2 separate regions of the Homo sapiens genome follow, and region 1 is linked to region 2. The links are contacts of gene promoters, found by promoter capture Hi-C in blood cells and fetal thymus (Javierre and others, 2016). All regions are on one chromosome and are shown on one strand. The core of a region is centred on a gene start or on the middle of the fragment in contact, and the rest is flanking DNA. Distances in the headings are between cores, read along the strand shown.

Region 1 (6,169 bases), core at 751-3,250, 460 kb after region 2:
TTTAAAAACTTGGAAGGGCATGTTCTAAAGTTTTAATTGTGATTATAGTACTGTGAATATAGTGGATAGTTTTCTTCTTCATTCATTTCTAACTTTTTAACTAGAAATCATAAAGCCTACACATATATATCATACACATCAAATTGTATACATTAAATATGTGCAGTTTATGCCAATTATATCTCAATAAAGCTGATAAAAATGTATAATGCTGTTCAATAAAACAAGTTTATTGTTTATAAAAAGAAACATGAATAATTTTAAAACACAAAATATTCACTTTTTACTAGCTCAGTGCCCATTTGTACGGTTGGTTCAAAAGTAATTGCGGTTTTTGCCATTAATTACTTTTAATACAATACCCAATACATTTAAAAATATTTGTTCGCTAGCATTTGGCACAGTTATGAAATAGCATTTTAAACAGGTTTTAAAAGTTTGGATCTGCACATTCTTTGCAAGGTTGGTAGGGAGGGGTGAGTGGGGTAGAATATTACTACTTATCAAGATATGTTAGTCCCTAAAAAGAAATGAATATCATGTCCAAGAAGCTGACTACTTTGTGGAAACATTCAGCTATTTATTTTTTCATTACAAGACGGTGATTTCTTATGATTAACAGATTTAAGTAAGCAAGCAAGCAAGCATGATGTGAATTTTCAAAAGAAACCACTAATTTAGATCCTACCGTCTCTCGTTAACATGTCCTGTGCTGAAGTATTAAATTTATTGATTACGTGAACTGTTAAATAGTCCATCTGCAATGCAAATGTAACTTTAAAATTAAAAATCTGACATCAATTCATTTTTCTCAAGAGACTTCAGAACTAAATTAAACACTTGATATGAGGCAGCCAGCCTTTTCTGATAAAGCTTTCAAATATCCGGCATGTTAAAAGTGTGCTGCTAGGTATGTGAAAGATGGCACTAGGCAAAGAATGACAGTCTCAATCATTTTTTAATAAAGGAAAATACACAGCTCTCCTGTGAAGCTGCATACTGCTTGACTGGTGGGCAATACTAATATGTATTCAGAGATATGATGATGTATCTGCTTGTCTTGCTGAGCTGTGCAGAGACGTCTTGCACAGATGCTCCCATGTGATAGCTGGCTGTATAGTTTGGTCTGCCTTCCTTGCAAGGCTCACAGTCTAAAACCCCAGCAGCTAATTTTTAAATACTAATGCATAGCACAGACCTAAGAATGAATAGAAATACTCATCCCTGAGGCATGTCATGAGTTGATTATAATAAAAATTGCTTAATTATTTATTGGTAGTTGCTTTATAAATTACTCTCTGGTTTTGCTGGAGGGCATAAACTGTGAGATGGGAGAAAAGAGTTAGAGAGCTGAAATAGTCAGGGGACACTGTGGTTAAGGGTTTCCCATACTACACAAATGCCTTTGGACTTTATCCTGCAAGTGCTGTGGAAACAGGAATCTTTTAACAGGGAGTTGAAAGGTCAGAGTTGTGTTTTCTCTGTGTAATGGAAGATGGATTTGAGGGGAACGAGAAAAGAGGCAGGTAGTAACTAGTTAAGGTGAAAGGCTGAAGTGAAAAGTTGCAGTACTGCCGAAAAAGAAGGGAGGAAGCCCCAAAAACAAAGGCTAAAGAAGTAAAGCTATAGAAAAACATTTAGGAGGATATGGTAGTTGATTGGATGTGAGAACCAGAGGTAAAGGAGAGGAAAGAATTGTATTTTCTGTTTTGTATAACTGGGTAAATAGTAGTAACCCCTTTAGCTGATACTGAAATCACAGGTGCTAATGCAGATTAGAAGAGGAAACATTAAGTGGCTGATTGACCTACTTTTCCTGATGCATGCATGCAGTCACTCAGCAATTTTATAAGAGCAATTGTATAGACAAACATACAATAAACAATGACAGCAAAATTATAAACAAAGTGCTCCAACTAAATCACAAAGGGCCAGGAAAACATGAGAATCTTTTTATGAAGCTCATATTAGGGACATGGACAAAGATGTAACAATTAGATTATATTAATTGTATTTGTTATGTTGCAATGGGAATGATTTTACTTGCTATAATAATGAGCTCTGTTATAATGGGTATTCTCCTTGATCTCACCTATTCATTCATTAGAATGAGGTTTTATTCTTTTCCTTTCACAGAGTAAATATACAATAAGATCAAATAAATTTTGATGATTGCCAACAGATGGTGAGGGGCTCAACTTGAGGACCATCTGATCTTTGGCTTTTCAGTTCTTTCCGGCTGTTCTTTCTACTTAATTACCTTCCCCTCACTTCCTAATCCCTTCCATGTAATTCTACACCAAGACTGGGTCTAGCACTATTAATTTTCCACAGCCTACGCTGTTTTCTGATAAGATATTCTTTCTTAGCTGGTTGCTAATGGACCTAAACAGTCTGGTTTTAGCAGAACCTTTCAATCCTATTTGAATCATGTCTTTGCTCAATTTATTAATTCAGTTTAATGCAGAGAATTTAAAACTTACTCTTACAATTTAATCTCATTTCAAATCTGACACAATGAATCAACCACCAGTGATTTTACATAATCAAAGAACCATTTCAACTAACCTGTCTTTAAAATCCTTCTATGTGAGACATATATTTTTTTCAATCATTAAAACAGGCTTACTAGAGTGATATATGTGTTTCAGTAACAAATTTCCCTCATTACCTGAATGCATCTCTGCATCTTTTGAGAATGAAGCAGAGAAAATATTGCTGTAATAGATATTTTAACAATATATCACGGAAGCACGAAAGATTAGGAATGTCTAAACACTCAGAAAGGACCTCCTAGGGCAATTTTCTAAAGATTTTTTTATGTATATTTATATAATCCATATCTAGACAGAACCTTTTTTTCCTTGACAGGTGTATTTTAACAACCAGTTCAATATAAGGAGGCTGTCTCCGTGTTCTGTTCAATAGTCCCTAATAACACTGCTTTACCAAGGGAGACGAATAAAATTTTGTTGATTGAAACATACTGCGTCATAATGTGTTCTCATGTTTCCGTAATGTTTAGCAGTAATTTAACAAAGTGCTTGTTCATTTGAATCAGAAATTGTACATCAAAACTATATATTGTTCTACATGTAGCCTGCATTCATAATACAATAAAGCTTAGTTTTAAATATACCATCTATGTTTTGTGAATGCTAGTTAAAAATAATCCTAGTTTCTTCTGATAATGAAAGTAATATATGTTTATGTTTTTTTGAAAAATGCAGACAGATTAAAGAAAAAACCCTGGCAATATGCATCACCTCACTAGAGATAATGGTTATTAATATTTTTACATACATCCTTTCTGAATTTTTATGCATATCTGTAAAAAATAAAAATTTTTAAGCAAACTTGAACTTGTATGTAATGATTTACATGGATAATCACTGCACACATTAACTTAGATGAATTTTACTCTCTCTGTGTGTGAGACAGACAATAATTTAATTAAATTTTTAAAATTTCTCTTCATTTAGCTCATGAATATATGCTTTGGAATAAGCATGAGATGGGGGATAGGAATTTCTTTTTTCTTAGTCAATTCCAGTTTCTGTGTGTCTCACATGGTGTGTGCAACTTGCTACAGTGACTATGATTCTGATGGCAAAAATACATATTTTTCTTATAACATGGTCTATACTCAGGCCAACAACTTTCATGCACAATCACAGAAACAGCCATGTATTCTAATACTAAAAGAAAAACTGTGTGGAAGTTATGGTATTTGGTCTTCAACCTAGAGATTTTCAAGGGTAATGTTGATTATGCAAAACTTTTTCTCCATTATGTGCTGGTTTTAAAACCTAACTTCCTGCATGGGATGCAACTCCCCTGTAATCTATACTTGTTTATTTTAGCAAATAGCTATTAATTTTCTTCTATAAGTATATTTTGAGAACATTTAAAATACTGGATTGCAATCCATCAAATGGATGCACCATATCTACTTAAACCAATCCACTATTATTAGACATTTGGTTAATTTCCAATGTTTTGTTATAAATAAAGCTATGACAACTGTTGCGCTTGAGATATGATATGAGGGTCAGTCATTATATTTGCACATGGACTTAATGCTATTGTAGTGTCTTTCTTTCAGGCAATTTTATCACTCCCATGCTAAGATATAGGAAGAAGGGGGATGTGACTTCCCAATAACCAGCTGGGGGTTGCCTTCACTGGAAGAGAAGGCAATAAAACGGGATTTTAGAAAAATAACCTTTTGGTGTTTTTTGCAGACACCTTTCCATGACACCTGTTCAGAGGGTTGGATTTGCACATAGTCATGTGAACCAGTTCAAAGAGTGTATTTGTGTGGCTTTTTGAGAGCTGCAGTGCTCTAGTTCCTTCTGTCAGCTTTGCGCTGCAAATAGCCATGGCATTTCCCAAAGTTAGAAGACTTCTGTGATTCACGTGCTTGTTCCTCAGACCCACACAGCTCTCCCTCCAAGTTTAGGTTGCCCCAGACAGCTGCATTGGGGGACAGCTACGTGCTGTTCTGATTTGTGCAGTGGAGAGAAAACTTGAGTCTCACAGCTTTATGAGAAGCCTTCATATGGACTCTACTGGGTCAAAGTCTTTAGAAAAATCAAATATTAATTTATTAGCATTCATTCCTTGTCCAAGATATAAACATTTTTAAGGCTTTTGATACATACCGATAAATTTCTCTCTAGAAATTTTGTACCAATTTATACCACATCAACTGTAGATGAGAGTGATCTTTTGTCTAAACTCTTATCAACCTATTATTTTGAAAAGAAACAGCCAGAGATGAAGTGAGCTTTTTAACTTCGTGTTTCTTTAATTTCTAAAGTAACTGGACATTTTTTGTGCATTTTAATGAACTTTTGTTTTTTGTTATTGATGTTCTTTGTCTCCCCCAACCCCTCTTTTTTTCTGTACAAGCATTAAAAAATGATGTCTAAGAACTCTTTCTAAGTCTTTATCTAAAAACAAAATGCTCAAATTGCATGAAGAAGCATATATATATATATATTTTTTTTTTTTTCTTTTCTTTTTTTGAGATAGAGTCTCACTCTGTCACCCTGGCTGAGATGCAGTGGTATGATCACTGCAGCCTCTACCTCCTGGGCTCAAGCAATCCTCCTGCCTTATCCTCTGTAGTAGCTGTGAGTACAGGTGCACACCATCATACCTGGCTAATTTTTAAATTTGTGTAGAGACAGGGTCTCACTATGTTGCCTAGGCTGGTCTCAAGCTCCTGGGCTTAAGTGATCCTTTTGCTTCGGCCTCCCAAAGTGCTGGGATTATAGGTGTGAGCCACCAGGCCTGACCAACATATATATTTTCAAGGAGAAAGGAGTGCTAGGAAGAGTGTGAGATGGGTAGATACAAAGCAGGCATTCAAATACAAAGTATTTGAATTAAATTAAGTTTCTGTTTTATTGAGAAAAGTTATAAAACATTACAACTTTTGTGATGCAGTTTGTAATAGAGATGTTATTTATGGTCTTTCATACCCTTGCCCCCTTTAAAAATTGCCCACGCAGAGCTTCTGATGTCTAGGTGGCTATGTTTTATATCACACGACTCTCATGATGGGATACCTACCCAAATGTCAGCACTTACTAGGCTGTCTAGAGATTTATGAACTATATCAGAATCTCTCTCTTAGAAATCAAATAATAATAATGATGAAAGCCAATTAATAGCAGATATGAAAAAAACATGCAGAATGTGAATGAACCAGATTAGTGGTGAAGCTGTAGAGGAAAGAGTTGAAAAAGTCACAAACTCCTGCTCCTGAGATCTCTGAAGCCATCTTAAATAGAGAGCCAAGCCTGTCATGGTGGTGTGAGCCTGTAGTCCCAGCCACTTGGGAGGCTGAGGCAGGAGGATTGTTTGAGCCCAGGAATTCGAGGCCACAGTGTGCTATGATGGCACCATGAATAGCCACTGTATTTCAGCCTGGGCAACATAGCAAGACCCTGCCTCTAAAAAAATAAATAAATAAAGGAGCAGCCACGTTGCAGCTCCAATTTCAGTAGTCTGTTACCTTTCTTGCTCTTATTTCTCTATGTATGTCCCTGTCACCTGAGCTTCCTTGACTGGATCTCTGTTCGTTTTGCTTAAATAAACCTGAAGATACAAGATGATTATAAGGTAAAGTACCTATGATACAGATTTTGGACTATCTTAG
Region 2 (5,937 bases), core at 409-2,908:
CAGTGGTTATTATTAATTATGGAGTGGGATGCAGACTACCAAGGGAATAAATGCGTAAGAATGTGACAATCAGAAAGCAAATATACTGTGACACCCCTTTTCACAGCCCTGATTTGTTTATTCTTTCTTGCCTCTAACTTACTACAGTTCAACACGCAACGCAATGCATGCTTGCTGGTCTCTTTAAGCCCACAGCAGGATTTTATATCAATAAGCCAGCAATCAAATACTTCAAGATATGCTGAGGAGCAGACAATGCAGGCAGTTCTAAAGATTTTTCATTTTATTTTTGTTTTGTTTTGATATTAGACCGAGCCACATCACCCTCACGCACAATCAGCTGAGGAGGCACACACTTTCACTTAAACCGTCTCCAAACTCGGCTCCTGGCCCAGCACGCATGCATGGCCCATGCAGACAAACAAGAAAGGCTTTGGAGTGTGGTGCCTGTTTTTTTCTTTTTTTGTAAAGCATCGACAATCTCCTTTTACCCTGACCATTCTTTTTAAAGCCACAAACACCCTCCCCTCTCCCCTACACACACCCCCCATTCCCTCCCCCGCCAATTCCAACCCAAGGAGGCGGGGGCGGGGGAGATGGGGCCGCCGGGGGATTCAAAACCTGCCCTCACAAAAGACAAACATAAATAACACCAACTTGAGAGGCAGCCGATTCCCAAGCCCGGTTCGGGACGCAATCCCTCGGCCCTGGGGCAGGACCGGGAGAGCAGGTGACGCCAAGCGCTATGGTAGGAGGTCGCAGTCTAGCTTTGTGCCAAGAAGCACCTGAAGTCCTAACACATTGGCTGCAGCTCCCGGCGGCTGCCAGGCGGATCCCACTGTGACACGGAGAGAGACGAGCTCCCTGGCCACATTTAAAAAAATAGAAAAGAAAAAAAATTACAGGGTAATGAAAATAAATCCCTTTGTTTTTCCTCCCAATGTGCCAGGAAACAATAGATCCCACTGATAATGCCTCCGATCTTCAACCTATTGCTCCTCCACCACAACCCACCCCCACCCCCAGCCTGCAACTCAGCCTTTGTACAAGCCGATTTTTTCCTCCTCTCCACCCTCCCCAACTCCTCGCCCCGCGCTCAGCCTCCCCCTTACCCGAGCGGGAGCGCCGCGGGCGGGGAGGGTCGGGCCGCCGCGGCTCCCACCCCCTCCTCGCAGGCGCCCCCCGCCCCACGGTGGACGCGGCGGCTCGGCTCGGCGCCGGCCCGCTGGGTACACCGCAACCCGCTCCTCACGGCGCAGCGCGTAGGGCGGCTGCGGCGGCCGCTTCCACTCGCGCGTCGGCCCCCAGGCGCTCCCTGCCCGCGGCGGGCGGCCCCGGGAGGCGCGCTGCGCTCCCCAACGCCATTGCGGGCGGGCGGCGGCCCGAGCAGCGACGCGCCCGCACGCTCGGGCCGGCCTGGGGCCAGGGGTGCCGGCCGGGGAAGGGGTTTGGCCCACGTGCGGTCGCCACGCCGGGCCGTTTCGGCGGCCGCGGTGTAATGGAGGAGAGGCCGCGGGGGTGAGGAAGGCCGGGGTAACAGGTGCCTCACCTCGGCTGATGGGATTAACTCTAGGGCCGCAGAGAGAGGGAGCCCGGCAGCAAAATCCCGGGAGAGGGAGAGAGAGGGAGCCTCTGGCGGCCAAGGAAGGGCGAAAAGCACCGGCCCGAGGCGAGGCCGCCCCACCCCCTCGGCCGTGGGCGAGGGGCCTCTCCGGCCTGGGGCAAGGCCCCTTCCTGTTCGGGTGTTGGCTCCGGAACTTGGTTCTGGGGCTGACCGCTGCTGGGGCCCCACTTAGTCTGAGTCTGCAGTTAACTCCGTGACCCCAAGGCATCCAAGTCCCAGGCCACTCTGCTGACCTGGAAGGCCAAGACGTAGGCCCAAGTCTGGTGTGGCCTTCACCTAAGCCACTGCGCCTGGCCTACTACTCACCTTGACCTTAAGATCTCACTGCCAAAGAGAAAGGGATGAGGAGGTCTTCTACCTTTCCTGTCTAGGGAGAGTTTTTCAGCTCACTCCCCCCCGAACCCCGCCCTTTTCTAAAGGCTCAGTACAACCTCTTACACCCCCAAGTACCGGAAGTGTTACCACCTTCCTGCAAGATATAAAACTGATCATGACTGTCAATACAGATGTTTAAACCAATCCTTCCAAAAAGCCTAGGGAGCAGGAACTCTTAAAAAATAATTTTTCAAGAAGGTAAAAACATGACAATGGTAGAAATATAAAATGAACATTGGTCAAAATTTTTATAACTCTTTTAATTAGGAAGGGAACCCCAGCAAGATACTGCAACCCATTCACGTGAGACTGTGAAGAGTAGACATAGAGGCAAGAAGAGGCAAATCTGCTTACTATTCTATAGAGCACTGAAATGTAATGTTTATTATTATCTGCTTTACAGGGCGGTAACCAGTTGTATCTGTAAAGTAACAAATTTGCATTCTGTAGATAAAACTCATTTACATTACCAAACGTTTCTACAGCTTACTGAGTAGTAAAATAGCCTAGTGAAAGTCAGTCTAAGTAAGGTGCAGACGACTGTAAATTTCACAACACTCCGGAGTCCTGTAGATAACATCCAGCATTCCATTGAAAGGACAAACAGTAATCTTTTGCTCATTTCAAAGTCTTTCACAAGTTTTCCCAACATAACTATTTTTAGCCCCATTTCACTGATGGAAAAACTAAGGTTTAGGTTTTGTAACTTACCCGCTTCTTTATTGGCTATTAATAGTAAATGATTATGGCTGAATATGAACCCAGGCAAGTCCGTACACAAATTCTATATACTCTGGGAGCAAAATCTTTTCATTTCAGAAGGATTTTGTAACTACTCAATACTCAGTTCTATGTATTTTTTAATTTTAAGCAGCAAGGGCTTTTTTTTCCTTTAAGCATCACCAAATTCTGGGTCCTTTCCCAAGAAATTGGCATTCTCTGTCTACGAAGTGGATGTCACTTCTATAAGCATAAACAGATGTAACAGGCAATGTGAGGGGGCTGTGGTTCCAGGCTCCACTTTTGGAAAGAACATTTCTGCTGTCTGGGATAATCTAGTGGAAAAGTTCCTGTCATTTATTTGCAGTATGGAAACCAGGTTTTTTAGGCGAATAACCTAAATAAATGCAGAATCTAATCACTGAGTTCTGTCTGTAGAAGAGGGGGCAGAGTTGGCAATAAAGACAGTCTTACACCTCTTTGCAGAAAGATGATTCATACAGAAAAGCACCCTAAAGGATTTGGTTGGTTTGAGTTTTATCTTTTGAAAATCTGAAACTTCTGGAAAAGTTCATACTGAAGGAATGATAGAGTTTTAAACCCGATGGTGAGAATTTAAGATTCCTAGATTTCCTATAATGGACCTTCCATTTCCAACACTTACTTGAATGTTTGAAGGGTCTATTAGACTGCTAATCCAATACATGCGGCTATTTAACTTTAATTAAAATTAAATACAATTTAAAATTCAGTTCCTTAGTCACACAAGCCGCATTTGAAAGGCTTGATGGCTACATGTGCCTAGTGGCCACTCTGTTGCACAGTGTAGATACGCAACATTTCCATCACAGAAAGTTCTATCAAACAGTGTTGTTCTAGACCACATTTTCACTTCTATGAACTTTATAAGGGTTAACTTAGTTCAATAGATCATTAATGTATTAGGCATTAGAGGTCATACATTTTATATGTTCCAACTGGAAAGGTGGTGAAAAGTGAACTTCATTACTGACATGCAAAAAATCCAAAATGTGTTTGGGGTGGGGGAGTTCTCAGTTTTCATATATGATACCTTAACCTTTCATAAATTATATAGAATATTGTGGGCTGTTATTTTCATTTCCTTTGCAACCAATAATACCATGATTAGTATTAACCATGTGGTCACAAGGTTAGAGGATAAACAAAAAGTACAAAGTATATTCTATATTGTTTTAGGGGTTTTCTCAATGTATTTTTAAGTTTTCGTGATGGACATTCTAAGAACTATTCAAAGAATTAAGTTATTCATGTGTGTATGTGAATCATTGGGTGCAGCTGTGAAATTAAGCCCAAACTAAGCCTGAATCAAATTTTAAGACTAGGGAAAACTGGCTAAGCTGGTACTAAAGACTGCCCATCACACTTTCATTTCTAACAGGAAGATACCTAGCTGGTTGTGTACTAATGGAAGTTCCTGAAGGGAGAGAAAAGACCAGAACAAACTAAAAGGTCTCTAGACTTAACTTCTTTATGGAGAAGGCAAAGTAATGGGAGAGCAATTTCAGTAGGTAATTTTACACATAATTGTAGCGTAAAAGGACATGTTATTCATACCACTGTTTTCTTACCGATATGCATAATGTTTTGATAGTGACGAGGCAGCTTTTTAATTAAAAGTTTAATTATAACTACTTATTTCACATTTGTAAGTATCACAGAATGCTTTGTTGACTTCAGTCTTGAATGTTGATATTCAATTTTCTTAAAGGTCTCTTTAAAATAAATATCTGTATTTGAGGATAAAAGTTTAAGTTTACTTTTGAGTCTTATAATATTTCACACAAACTCCATCATAGAGGTAGAATATACTTCTCTAAAATAGTCCTCAGGCTCACATTCAGATTCAAAGATATCTATGATCAGTCTTATTTTGTGATGTTAGCTATAAAATTAACATTAAAGGTGTCATTTCTACCCCAATAAATTGATAATGATTCAGCATGGCTTTCTACCTACACTCATGGCTTGGACATGCCACTGAAAATTTAAACCATCATCTCTGTCCATTTCCCATTCTACAAGTATCTTGGATTTTCAGCTTTAAAAGTTCATAAGGTTGAGTATTTAGTTTTACTTGCCATGAGTAATGAACTGTAGAACTCTTCGGGATTCCTTTAGGTCATTTTTAAGTTACTAATATCTTATCTCTACAAATAAACAACAACAAATTTACACAGTGTGTTTAGGCTAAAGTGATACAACTTCTCTTTCTTTGCTATTATTACTTTGTCCACCCACACAAAACACAGGAAACCAAGAGTTTTATTGGACCAGACATTGGTATAATGTTTTCATTGCTGTCACAGCTTCTGAGGTTGAAACAACAGCTGCTATAACCATTAGTTTTCAGTTTTGTAGTGGTGCATGTTACACTTTTAAAGACAAGTATGAGGCATTTATTTGTTTCTACAGAAGCTCATTTTTCTTTCAACAGATTAGCCCCTCTAGCAGGACTCTAGTTGTGGTTTTCTGTCTGCAAATCCTCCACCTACAAGTTGCACCTGAACTCAAATTGGCATGTTGCTGATCTTACTTCAGAATAATTTATTCATAATCTATTATTTCGAAGTAGGCTCTGTTCCATATTATTTTGAAGTAGCTCTATTCCATAGCATTAGCCTTGGTGAATTAACTATTAAAGTAAATAAATAAGCATCCATGTTTGTCTACAATTAAACAGGAGATTTCTGTGACTTTATTTCCATTTTCAATCTAGTTCTAGTAATAAACCTTCTTGGTGAGGTCCACAATAGTCCCATTTTATACAAAATTTACATTATAACAGAATGCATTTTAAGAACATCGTAATATTTAATTTGTGTATGCAGTCATCAGCTTTTGGAAATAATTCAATGATAAATTTGCTCTGAAGTTACTAGTACATTTTTCATAGGTTCTTAAACAGCCATAATCCATGTTCATCCAGCATAGTAATTTATTACCATTACTTTAACGCATTGTTTCAAATAAAGTTTGAAAATGTATCACAATCCCTTACATTGTTTGCACACCATTAAATTTCTCAGTTGGATCAATAATGAACAAGTGCTTATCCCCATCCATCAGAAGGCAGATCTTGAGCTGGTAGCATTCTCATTCTTGTCCCTGGACGGTACTCAACATCGTGATTACATCTGGAAATGTTGCATGTCTTAGACTCTCCTTAAGTAAATGAT

What was found. Contacts are between HindIII fragments. The CHiCAGO score rates a contact against its expected background, and 5 or more counts as called.
Region 1: a contact is called between a fragment that was not itself captured here and the fragment with the promoter of PPP1R9A in region 2, in 1 of 17 cell types (M2 macrophages). The highest score is 5.3, in M2 macrophages.

What each region holds. Positions count from the first base shown.
Region 1 is chr7:94,441,096-94,447,264 of GRCh38, reverse strand. No RefSeq gene overlaps it. Among named protein-coding and RNA genes, the nearest start is that of COL1A2, 49 kb to the right of the region's middle. The HindIII fragment of the contact is 2,249 bases long and covers 876-3,124 here.
Region 2 is chr7:94,903,315-94,909,251 of GRCh38, reverse strand. PPP1R9A (protein phosphatase 1 regulatory subunit 9A) reads right to left here and starts at 1,658. Exons shown (of 20, transcript NM_001166160.2): 1 at 1,550-1,658. RefSeq lists an enhancer at 841-1,601. The HindIII fragment of the contact is 9,522 bases long and covers 1-5,937 here.